Linked DNA regions of Homo sapiens: region 2 is linked to region 1. Evidence: promoter capture Hi-C in 16 types of primary human blood cells and fetal thymus (Javierre and others, 2016). All regions are on one chromosome and are shown on one strand. Each heading gives the region's core, a stretch centred on a gene start or on the middle of the fragment in contact. The rest is flanking DNA. Distances are from core to core; before and after follow the strand shown.

Region 1 (5,689 bases), core at 885-3,384:
CCTGGGCTCTGAGGCTTGCTCTGCCTCTCCCAGTCCTTAATGGGGTTTAGAGGGAGAGACGTCATTAACAGAGACCAAGTCAGATGGTTGCAGGTCCTCCTTTCCCAGTCATCAGACAAGTTGCTCAATTCTTGTCCAGAGCAGGAAAGAGCCAGTACTTCAGTAAAATTGAATAAAGAATTTGATGTTGCATTATAAGATCTCTCTTAACAATTTAGATTTATCAACAATATTGGTCCAAAACTCATTTGCTTCTAATTTTTTTCATTTTGCAATTTACTTTGTGTGTGTGTTACTTTAATAATCTCACTCCCTGTGCAGAAATTAATCAACCCCGTGCAAAGAAAAATCCCTCAACCTGGAATAGCTTCATCTTACTTTGGCAAGAGAAAACAGAGGTATTTTTGCTCCTCTTCTACCCAAGTGATGAACAAATATCCCCCCAAAGTTCAAAATGTTACTCTGGCCTCGGAATGCATATAAAGACTGCTTTAGATGGGCTGATTCCAATCACCTAGAAAGGGCAGCCGGAACCACTATGCAGGCAGCCTTCTTTGGAAATTTCTTACAATCAACTCTTGAGAACCATCCGTGATTGTGGACAATGGCTCTAAGGTCCAAACAACTTCTGTTCTTTCATCTCACGAGCTAGGCTCAGAGGAGGCATTTGAACTGTCAGGAGCAAGAACAGCAGCTGTGGCCCCACGAGGCAGGACTTCAATAACTCGCGGCTTGTCAATGATCCGGGCCGTTCGGTTTCCCTTTTCCACAATGCCAACGATCCACGCTTGGTGACCCTCTCCGTACTTGGAGGATTTGATTTCAGAACAAAAGCGAGCCGCCTGTTCTCTTGGCAGACAAATCAGTAATCCCCCAGAGGTTTCAGCTGAGGTTCCTTGAAGAAGCCCAAACCGTCCACTGGCCTTGCTGACGGCAGCCATCTTGGCAATTATTGGCAGATTATGAATAACAAAGGACACTTCATTTCTTTGTTGTTTTGCAAGGTTCTGGGAGTGTCCTAGAATGCCAAAGCCTGTGATATCTGTGGCCGCATGGGCATTAAATGTGTGCATTAAACCTGCAGCAGTTCTGTTGAGGGTAGCCATATTGAACATGGCTTCCTGATAGGCCAGCTCCACCTCTTCTCTGGAGACCACCATCTTTACTTTATTCCATCTTTCAGGATTATCCAGCCATTGGTGGGCATTGACAGCAACCTGGGTTCCTAACGGTTTGGTTAACACCAGCACGTCCCCAACGACGGCGCTGTCCGGCATTATGAACTCATTTGGTTGGCATACTACAGTGGCAACTCCACCGATTATAATCCAAGGGTTGACCACCGTTTGCCCACCGGTCACTGCCGTCCCTCCTTCCTCAGCCGCATCCCGAAAGCCTTTGACCATGAGTGGCGTTACCTTTTCGCGTTCCTCCTCACTCATACTCTGGCTGACGCTGAGTAACATCAACATGTTGTCACACTCAGTAATCCCCATGGCGTAGAGGTCACTCAGCACGTTGGCACAAGCTATGCGCCCCATCATGTAGGGATCTTCTACCAAGGGGTAAAAGAAGTCCGTGGTCTGCACCAGTGACAGGCCCCCGTGCCTCAGGGGGATGACGCAGGAGTCCATCCCGATGCCCAGGGCTGGAAAGGTGGGGCTGGGGCCCGCTCCTGCCGGCAGGCCGGCTTCCTGGGACGCCTCTTCCTGGCCACCCACCAGGCCCCGGCCCAGCGGGGGCCGCACGTCCGGCCGCGTCAGTCCCGCCAGGAGTTTGAGCAGCGCCTCCTGCGGGACCTTGCAGCCTCAGCCCTTCATGCCGGAGAAGCCCGTCAGCCGCCAGCTCGGGCTGAGGCCCAACGCCTGGGGCTCGAAGGGCCGGTAGTTCGAGAAGCTCCGGCCCAGAGTCAAGCCCGCCGGGCCCGAGGAGCCTTCCGCCGCTGCCATCGCCTCTCCGCAGGCGCCCGTCGCCGAGGCTTCCGCCATGGCGCCTGCCCGGCAGGGAAGCGAGAGGAGAAGAGGGCCCTTTTATTTTCCACTCAGATTAATATGAAGCAAAAGTCAAATATTACCTGCAGGGATTCTCCCTAGCGCTACTCAAGCCGTCAGACCCACGGCATGCACAATCTTCCTGATAGAGGAGCCGCCGGACTCCCTTATTTATAGCCCTGGCGATTGACAGCCGCAACATCCAATGACGACTCCGCCACCGAGAGGCGGGCTTCCTAGACTCTAAAAGGTGCAACAACCTCCGGCTTGCAAAACCGCTTGCAACGGGATTGCAGAACGTCACGTGCTTTCCTTCGCTCTCTTAGTAATTTAAATGGTTTCTTGGCAGTGGCTGACGGAACTCTGCTCCCTTCCAGTCACTTTTCCAAGTCCAGCAAATTGTAGACGAGGGAAGATTGGTCACTCGGCAAACCTCATGATCGGCAGGATTGTCCCAAAGGTCACTTGACAGCGCACATGATCGATCCAGGATGGCAAAATAGCCCAAGGGAAAAAACAGAAAGCATGAGAAATTAGAAATTAAACTACTACCATTAAGTTAGCAAACTGCAGGCAGCATCAATATAATGAAATGTTAACAGGAACTTCAAGAACTCTAGGACTCAGGAGGTCGAGGCTGCAGTGAGCTGCGTCCGCGCCACTGCACTCTAGTCTGGGCGACAGAGCAAGAACCTGTCTCTAAAACAAACAACAATAACAAACAAACAAACACCCCCCCCACACACACAGACACACACAAAAAGAGAGATTTAGGACTGGAAGTCCAGACACCTGCATGGATTCTAATGGTGTTTCCCACCAGCTTTGTGTGGAGTCACTCTCCGCGTCGGTTGACTCATCCATCTGTGGAACAGAGTGGGTTACATAGGACTGGTCTATTCTAAAATTCCTATATCTCTGTAAATAAATATATATATATATCTTATATAGCCATGAAGGGCAGTTTGCCAATATCTATTAAAAACTCCACCTCCCAGGTTCAAGTGATTCTCCTGCTTCAGCCTCCTGAATAGCTGGGATTACAGGTGTGCGCCACCACACCCGGCTTATTTTTGCGTTTTTAGTACAGACGGGATTTCACCACGTTGGCCAGGCTGGTCTCAAACTCCTGACCTCAAGTGATCTGCTGGCCTCGGCCTCCCAAAGTGCTGGGATTACAGGCATAAGCCACCACACCCAGCCAATAAAAACTTTTTTAAAAGACAAGAAAATGAATAGAAGACTCAGCATAGGGGCTATGTCTAGGGAGGGCTACATAGGGAGCTTCTGGGCTATGTTTAATTCTGTTCATTGGGCTGGTGGTGGGTACGTGGTACATGGTTGTTCTTTAAACTGTACATAGATATTTTCGGGGCCGGGCACAGTGGCTCACACCTGTAATCCCAGTACTTTGGGAGGCCGAGGCGGGTGGATCACGAGGTTGGGAGATCGAGGCCAGCTTGATCTATATGGTGAAACCCCGTTTCTACTAAAAATACAAAAATTAGCCGGGCATGGTGGTGAGCGCCTATAATCCCAGCTACTCGGGAGGCTGAGGCAGGAGAATTGCTTGAACTTGGGAGGCAGAGGTTGCAGTGAGCCAAGACTGCACCACTGCACTCCAGCCTGGGTGAAAGAGCGAGACTCTGTCTCAAAAAAAAAAAAAAAAAAAACTGCACATAGATATTTTCCCACACTATTTTTGTAGGTATGCTATATTTCAGAATTTAAAAAACATGCAAAAAGAAAGCATGATGGAGTGGGAAAATACAGTGAAAGCAAAAGACCTTGTATGATGTCTGCATTGCTGTCAGTGAGCTGGCTGACCTTGAGGAAGTGATCTAGCCTCTCTGCACCTTAGTCTTCTCTTCTGTTAAACCAGGGTCACAATCTCTGCTTAGGATCTAGTGGAAGGGCCATAGGAAACCTCAGCTGAAAAGTGTTTTGCAAAATGTTAAGCCTATTGTACAGGGAAAGGATCCTCATATCTCTAAGGGAAAGAGGAAAACATTGTATTATGTCTGTAATCACCTCACCTGAGTTAAAAAGTGACTAGGTCAGGTGGTGCTGGTTATACATTCTCTTAGTTCTTTGGACTTCTCCCTCTCTGCACTTAGTACAATTTGCAATTCTTTTTTTTGTTTGTTTGTTTTTTGAAATGGAGTCTCGCACTGTCACCCGGGCTGGAATGCAGTGGTGCGATCTCGGCTCACTGCAACCTCCACCTCCCGGGTTCAAGCAGTTCTCCTTCCTCAGCCTCCCAAGTAGCTGGGATTACAGGCACCCGCCACCACAACCAACGAATGTTTTGTATTTTTAGTGAGACAGGGTTTCACCATGTTGGCCAGAATGGTCTTGATCTCTTGACCTCATGATCCGCCCCCTTCGGCCTCCCAAAGTTCTGGGATTACAGGCATGAGCCACCGCGCCTGGCCCTGTAATTCTTTAATCATGTGATAATGCCATGCCTATCTGTCTGGCCCCCTCGTTTGTAAGCTCTGCAGAGCAGGGGCTGCTCTGTTGTTTCTGTTTGTTTGTTTTGTTTTGTTTTGAGACAGAGTTTTGCTTTTGTCACCCAGGCTGGAGTGCAGTGGCTTGACCTCAGCTCACTGCAACCTCTGCCTCCCAGGTTCAAGCGATTCTCCTGCCTCAGCCTCCCGAGTAGCTGGGATTATAGGCACCTGCCACCATGCCTGCCTAATTTTTGTATTTTTAGTAGAGATGGGGTTTCACCATGTTGGCCAGGCTGGTCTCGAACTCCTGACCTCAGGTGATCCTCCTGCCTCAGCCTCCCAAAGTGCTGGGATTACAGGCATGAGCCACTGCACCTGGCTGAGGGGCCTCCTTGATAATACTCATAACCTCTACTCCATGCCCTTCTAGGAAGCAGAGGTCTTTGGGGGAAGGTTTTCATCCATACAGTTCCCTGTTGCTTCTACTTGGAGCAATATTCACTTGGGCCAGTGCAAAGAAAGTCACGAATTTGCCTTGGCCAGTGACCAACCTGCTGTGCTCAGAATGACACATGCATGTGCCTCTGTGCAGGTGACCCATAGGGGCCTCTCAAGGGTGACCCTGAGGGCTGCAGCCTCAGCACCTGGAAGCATTCCTTTTGTTCTTTTCTTATTTCTCACTGAGAGATCCATTGAGCTATGTTTTACTATTTGTGGCCGAGCGCAGTGGCTCACGCCTGTAATACCAGTACTTTGGGAGGCCAATGTGAGCGGATCACCTGAGGTCAAGAGTTCGAGACCAGCCTAGCCAATATGGCGAAACCCTGTCTCTACTAAAAATACAAAAATTAGCCGGGCATGGTGGTGCATGCCTGTAATTTCAGCTACTCAAGAGGCTGAGGCAGGAGGATAACTTGAACCCAGGAGGCGAAGGTTGCAGTGAGCAGAGATCGCACCAATGCACTCCAGTCTGGGTGCCAGAGTGAGACTCCATCTCAAAAAAAAAAAAAGAACAAGAAGACCTCGCTTGAGCCTGGGAGTTCAAGTTCAAGGTGACAGTAAGCTATGGATTGCGCCACTGCACTCCAGGTTGGGAAAAGAATAACAGGATTGGAGTCCTAGCCCCTGGTTTGCTTTTCACATACAACAACAGCATTTGGGTCAGGTATGTGGCCCAATTGTGATAATCATTTGGGGTTATAACACTACACTTGAAGGATCAGTACATCTAAAAAATTCTTATTT
Region 2 (5,689 bases), core at 2,281-4,780, 73 kb after region 1:
AGATTACAGGCGCCCACCACCACGCCAGGCTAATGTTTGTATTTTTAGTAGAGAGAGGGTTTCATCATGTTGGCCAGGCTGGTCTCAAACTCCTGACCTCAGGTGATCCGCCCACCTCGGCCTCCCAAAGTGCTGAGATTACAGGCGTGAGCCACTGTGCCTGGCCTGGTCTCAACATATTCTAAACCAAATTTGCTGTCTTCCCCTAAGCCAGCATCTCCTCTGGCTTGCGTGGAATCTTTTGAAAGCACCATCTCTTTCTCAAGGAAAACTTAACGTGTCTGGGTGAATTTCTCCTTCCTCCTGCTTTGTCCCACTGCCTGCTGGAGTCTGGTTGTCTGTGTCCTTTTTCTGCTACCGCCCAGACCCAATTCCTCACCTTCTTGCAACTGGACTATTGAGAGAGGCTCCCAACATGGGCCATGACCCGCCTCTCCCAGCCTCTTTCCAGCTCATGCCTGCAGGGGATGGACCTCCCTGGAGCCACTCTCTTCCTCTGCCACCTTCTGTGACTTCCCACTGCCTCCTTGATGCTGCTCCAACTCCTCACTCTCAAGCCTTCCAGGCCCCATAGTGTGATCTTGGGCTTCCTTTCCAGCCTCAGCTCCTGTTCTCCTTCCCAGGCACCCTCCTTCCAGCCACATCCCTCTCACCTGGTGCCATCCTGGCTCCCCACATGTCTCTTCTTGGATGCCCTCTCCCACCTTCATCTGTTAAAATCCTGTCCATCTGGTCAGGCGCGGTGGCTCACACCTGTAACCCCAGCACTTTGGGAGGCCCAGGTGGGCAGATCACCTGAGGTCAGGAGTTCAAGACCAGCCTGGCCAACATGATGAAACCCCATCTCTACTAAAAATACAAAAATTAGCTAGGTGTGGTGGTGTGTGCCTGTAGTCCCAGCTACTGGGGAGGCTGAGGCAGGAGAATCGCTTGAACCTGGAAGGTGAAGGTTGCAGCGAGCTGTGATCGTGCCATCGCACTCCAGCCTGGGTGACAGAGTGATATTCTGTCTAAAAAAAAAAAAAAAATCCTGTCCATCTTTCACAGTCAAATTCAAATACTGCCCCTGACATTTGGCCTTTTTAATTTAACTGGTATTTCAAGTGTCCACAAATGTTCGTTGAATGAATAAATGATAGAATCCTTCTAATTTGATACATTTCCCTGCTTCCTGAGACATTGTTAGTGCCACTTCTGTGTCACTTTCTTACACATATCTGAGTCTCCCAGCCTTAACACAGGTAGTTCTTTTTTTAATAAAAGGTGCTCAGAAATTTTTTTTTTTTTTTGAGACGGAGTCTCACTCTGTCGCCCAGGTTGGAGTGCAGTGGCATGATCTCGGCTCACTGCAACCTTCACCTCCTGGGTTTAAGTAATTCTCCTGCCTCAGCCTCCAGAGTACCCAGCACTGTAGGATTGTGCCACCACACCTGGCTAATTTTTGTATTTTTAGTAGAGACGGGGTTTCACCATCTTGGTCAGGCTGGTCTCAAACTCCTGACCTCAAGTGATCTGCCCACCTCAGCCTCCCAAAGTGCTGGGATTACAGGTGTGAGCCACCACACTAGGCACTGTGTCAAGCAGTAGGGGATTGGAGGTGGAGTAAGAATGGCTCCTGTCCTCAGGGAGTTCATGGTCTAGTGGAGATGCAGACATCCAAGCAGATCCTTTGCCGTCCTGCTGGGGACGCAGAGCACACTGTGGGAGCCCAGGAGGGGGAGCTGCCCTGTCCTTGGGGAGTCAGCGAAGCCTTCAGAGATAATATTAGAGCAGGCCCTTGCAGGGTGTGTGAGAGTGTGCTGGGCGGAGAAAGCTGGAAGAGCATGGAAGCCACACTGCAAGGCCCTGAGGACGGAAGCTGGCCATGCCCAGTCACTGGACACTGCCTAACCGACAAGGGCCCTGGGGACTCAGCCAATGAGGACTGGAAGAGGCGTGCAAGGGCACACAGGGTCTGGGGGGCAGCTGGGGTGGCTGGCATTCAGGGCTCTGCATCCCTTGTCCTCTGTGCCAGGTGAGGATCCAGCCTTCCATCCACGACCACAACATACCCACCCTGGAGGCTGTGGTTGGGGTGCCACAGCCTCCCAGCGAGGGGCCCATCACACACCAGTGGAGCGTGCAGATGGTGAGTGCTGCCTGTAGAGGGAGGGTCTACCCTCCTCAGGTCTTGGGGGTGAGTGCATTTGAGGGTACAGAGGGCAGGGCTTGGCCAGGTGCGGTGGCTCTGCCTCCCAAATCCCAGCACTTTGGGAGGCTGAAGTGGGAGAATCCATTGAGGCCAGGATTTTGAGACCAGCATGGGCAACATAGCACAACTCCAGTCTCTACAAACAAATTTTAAAATTATCCAGGCATGCATGGTGGCCCGTGCCCGTGGTCTCAGCTACTCAGGAGGCAGAGGCGGGAGGATCACTTGAACCTAGGAGTTTGAGGCTGCAGTGAGCTATGATGGCACCACTGCACTCCAGCCTCGGTGACAGAACAAGACCCTGTCTCTAACAAAGAAAAAAAAATCAAGGGGGCAAGGCTGGGTGTATGGAGAGTAAGGATGGATGAATTCAGGTCCTGCTGGACTCAGAGATGTCTGAACTCACCCAGGGCCAGGGCCAGGGCAGGGGAAAGCTGGGATGCCAGTGTCTTATCTGGGTTGGGGAGGCTCTAACTGAAGACCTGCCGCTTGTTCCTAGGAGCCTCCCGTGCCCTGCCACTATGAGGATCTGGAGAGGCTCCCGGATGCAGCTGAGGTATGGGCGTGTGAGCTGAGAGACGGTGGGGCTGGGCGGTACACGGGTCGGAATGAAGCCGCCCTGACCCCGCTTTCCTCATCCTTGTCAGCCTTGTCTCCCCGGAGCCCTGTTCCGCTGCCCTGTTGTCTTCAGGCAGGAGATCCTCGTCCAAGTGATCGGGACTCTGGAGCTGGTGGGAGAGATCGAGGTAGTCCCCGCTCCTAAGAGATGTGGAGCTGCTGTGGGGGCCCCAATGCCTGGGGCCGTTGTGGGTGGGCTCCCACCAGATAGTCTGCCTCCATTTTTGTTTTCCATCTTGATGAAAAATCCCATTTACACAGTCACAGGTGAAAGAGAACAATGATTTCTGTGATATTTGCAATGCTGTTTCCATGGGCCTATGGATAGTTCCTGTGTGTTCTTTATAGAAAAGCTTTCCTTACAACAATGGGGAGCGACATATTAGGGTGCCACAGTAGAGGCTGGGGCGGGGCTCAAGCCTATAATCCTAGCACTTCGGGAGGCTTAGGTGGGTGGATCACTTGAGGTCGGGAGTTCTAGACCAGCCTGGCCAACATGGTGAAACCCTGTCTGTACTAAAAATACAAAACTTTAGCCGGGCGTGGTGGCACATGCCTGTAATCCCAGCTACTTGAGAGGCTGAGGCATGAGAATCCCTTAAACCCGGGAGGCAGAGGTTGCAGTGAGCCAAGATGGCACCACTGCACTCCAGCCTGGGTGACAGAGCAAGACTCCATCTCAAAAAAAAAAAAAAAATAGAAAGAAAAGAATGCCACAATAGAGAGTTGTGTAGAGATGGGTGCACCCCCCTGGAACCCCTTCTCTGCCCCTCCCCACTGTGTTGTGGTGGGGGCAAAAGCCAGTGGGTTCTGTCCTCGTTCTCCCGGGTTCTGACGCCTTTCCCCGCTCCCACAGGCCTCTTCCATGTTCAGCCTCTGCAGCTCCCTCTCCATCTCCTTCAACAGCAGCAAGCATTTCCACCTCTATGGCAGCAACGCCTCCCTGGCCCAGGTATCTCCACCTCCTTGGAAGCCCCAGGAACAGGCAACAGAGGGAGCCCAGGAGCCCCAGGGCAGACCTAGATGTGGGAGAGCTCCTGGGCTCTGTGCGAGTCAGAACTTCCCACTGCCAGAGCCATCAGCCTGGGAGAAGCTTCTTCTCCCCTTGGTGGGCACACAACCCCAGAGTTGCCTGAGATGTAGTAGACTTATGTGTCGAGTAAAGTTCAATCGAGGCCGGGCGCAGTAGCTCACACCTGTAATCCTAGCACTTTGGGAGGTCAAGGTAGGCAGATCACATGAAGTGAGGAGTTCAAGACCAGCCTGGCCAACATGGTGAAACCCCATCTCTACAAAAATACAAAAATTAGCCGGGCATGATGGTGGGCGCCTGTAATCCCAGCTGTTCGGGAGGCTGAGGTGAGAGAATCACTTGAACCTGGGAGGCAGAGGTGGCAGTGAGCTGAGATCCCACCATTGCACTCCAACCTGGGCGACAGAGTGAGACTTCATCTCAAAAGGATCTGTCAGAGGCAGGCGTGGTGGTTCACGCCTGTACTCAGTGCCTCGGGAGGCTGAGATGGGAGGATCGTTTGAGCACAGGAGTTCAAGGCTGCAGTGAGCTATGATTATGCCACTACACTCCAGCCTGGGCAACACAGTGAGACCTTATCTCAAAAAAAAAAAAAATCAATCTGATGGCAGCTTAGCAAAGGAGTTACCAAGCCAAGTCAGACAGTGAAGAAAGAGCGCTCTAAGCAGAGGCAGTGGCAAGGCCAGGGGCCTCTGTGGTGAGTGTTGGCAGGGCAGGTTTGAAGAGCAGGAAGTTCAGTGTGGCTAACAGGCAGAGGGGAGGAGGGAAGCTGCATCTAACAGGTAAGCAAAAGCTGGATTCTGGACGGCTTTGAATGCTGAGCTGCGTGCGATTCCGGGGAAGCCATTGAAGGCCTAGGGCTGCCTAAGGTGTGTGTTGGCCAACTCATGGCAGCGACTGCAATAGGTGACGTGTTAAAGGGAGAGGGTCTGCAGCTGGAGACTCCAGGCGGGTGATGCAGTCCGGATAGGAGGAGATGGGGAATGGAACCAGGTTCACAGGGACTTTCAGGGGTGGAAAAGGCATTTTCCGGCACTCCCCTCCCCCTGCTCCCAGGTTGTCATGAAGGTTGACGTGGTGTATGAGAAGCAGATGCTCTACCTCTACGTGCTGAGCGGCATCGGGGGGCTGCTGCTGCTGCTGCTCATTTTCATAGTGCTGTACAAGGTGGGTGCCTCCGGGGGTCACAGGCATTGCTGAGACAGCCAGGCTGGGGAAGGGGATCTGGTGGGAGCCAGGGAGGAGAATACCAAGCCAGAGGGCATAAGAGCCAGGGGGCCTCAGAGCCAGGGGGCCTCAGCCTACTCCCTCCTTCAACAGAGAAGGCTACTGAGGTCCAAAGAACAAGCAAGGGCCAGGTGCAGTGGCTCATACCTGTAATCCCAGCACTTTGGAGGCCGAGGCAGGTGGATCACGTGAGCCTGGGAGTTCAAGACCCGCCTGGGCAACATGGAAAGCATCCGCCTCTACAAAAAATTTTAAAAATTAGGGGGACGTGATGCTACCCAACTGTAGTCCCAGCTACTCGGGAGGTTGAGGTGGGAGGATCCCTTGAGCTCAGGAGGTCAAGGCTGCAGTGAGCCATGATGATGCCACTGCGCTCCAGCCTGGGTGACAGAGCAAGACCTTGTCTCACACACACACAAACAGCAAGAGAGACTTTTCCACGGTCATTCAGCCCATCCCTGGCAGAGCCAGGACGAGGCGTCCTGGGAGAGGAAAAGGAAGTATGCCAAATGTGGAGGTCCTTTTGGCTGCTGGGCACTGTCCCAGGCACAGGGACACAGAGGCACATGCCACAAACATGCTCCCTGCCATTGTGGCGCTCACAGTCTAAGAGAGGACAC

Evidence for each region. Contacts are between HindIII fragments. The CHiCAGO score rates a contact against its expected background, and 5 or more counts as called.
Region 2: a fragment that was not itself captured here is called in contact with the fragment with the promoter of SEPHS2 in region 1 in 11 of 17 cell types (erythroblasts, megakaryocytes, non-activated CD4 T cells and 8 more); the score reaches 11.0 in erythroblasts.

The regions. Positions count from the first base shown.
Region 1 is chr16:30,443,740-30,449,428 of GRCh38, forward strand. SEPHS2 (selenophosphate synthetase 2) reads right to left here and starts at 2,135. Exons shown (of 1, transcript NM_012248.4): 1 at 1-2,135. The coding sequence starts at 1,988. The coding sequence ends at 642. RefSeq lists an enhancer at 1,327-2,273 and a silencer at 1,600-1,719. The HindIII fragment of the contact is 8,484 bases long and covers 1-5,689 here.
Region 2 is chr16:30,514,959-30,520,647 of GRCh38, forward strand. ITGAL (integrin subunit alpha L) reads left to right here. Exons shown (of 31, transcript NM_002209.3): 26 at 2,015-2,128; 27 at 2,691-2,747; 28 at 2,839-2,937; 29 at 3,666-3,761; 30 at 4,899-5,009. Among named protein-coding and RNA genes, the nearest start is that of ZNF768, 8.8 kb to the right of the region's middle. The HindIII fragment of the contact is 740 bases long and covers 3,161-3,900 here.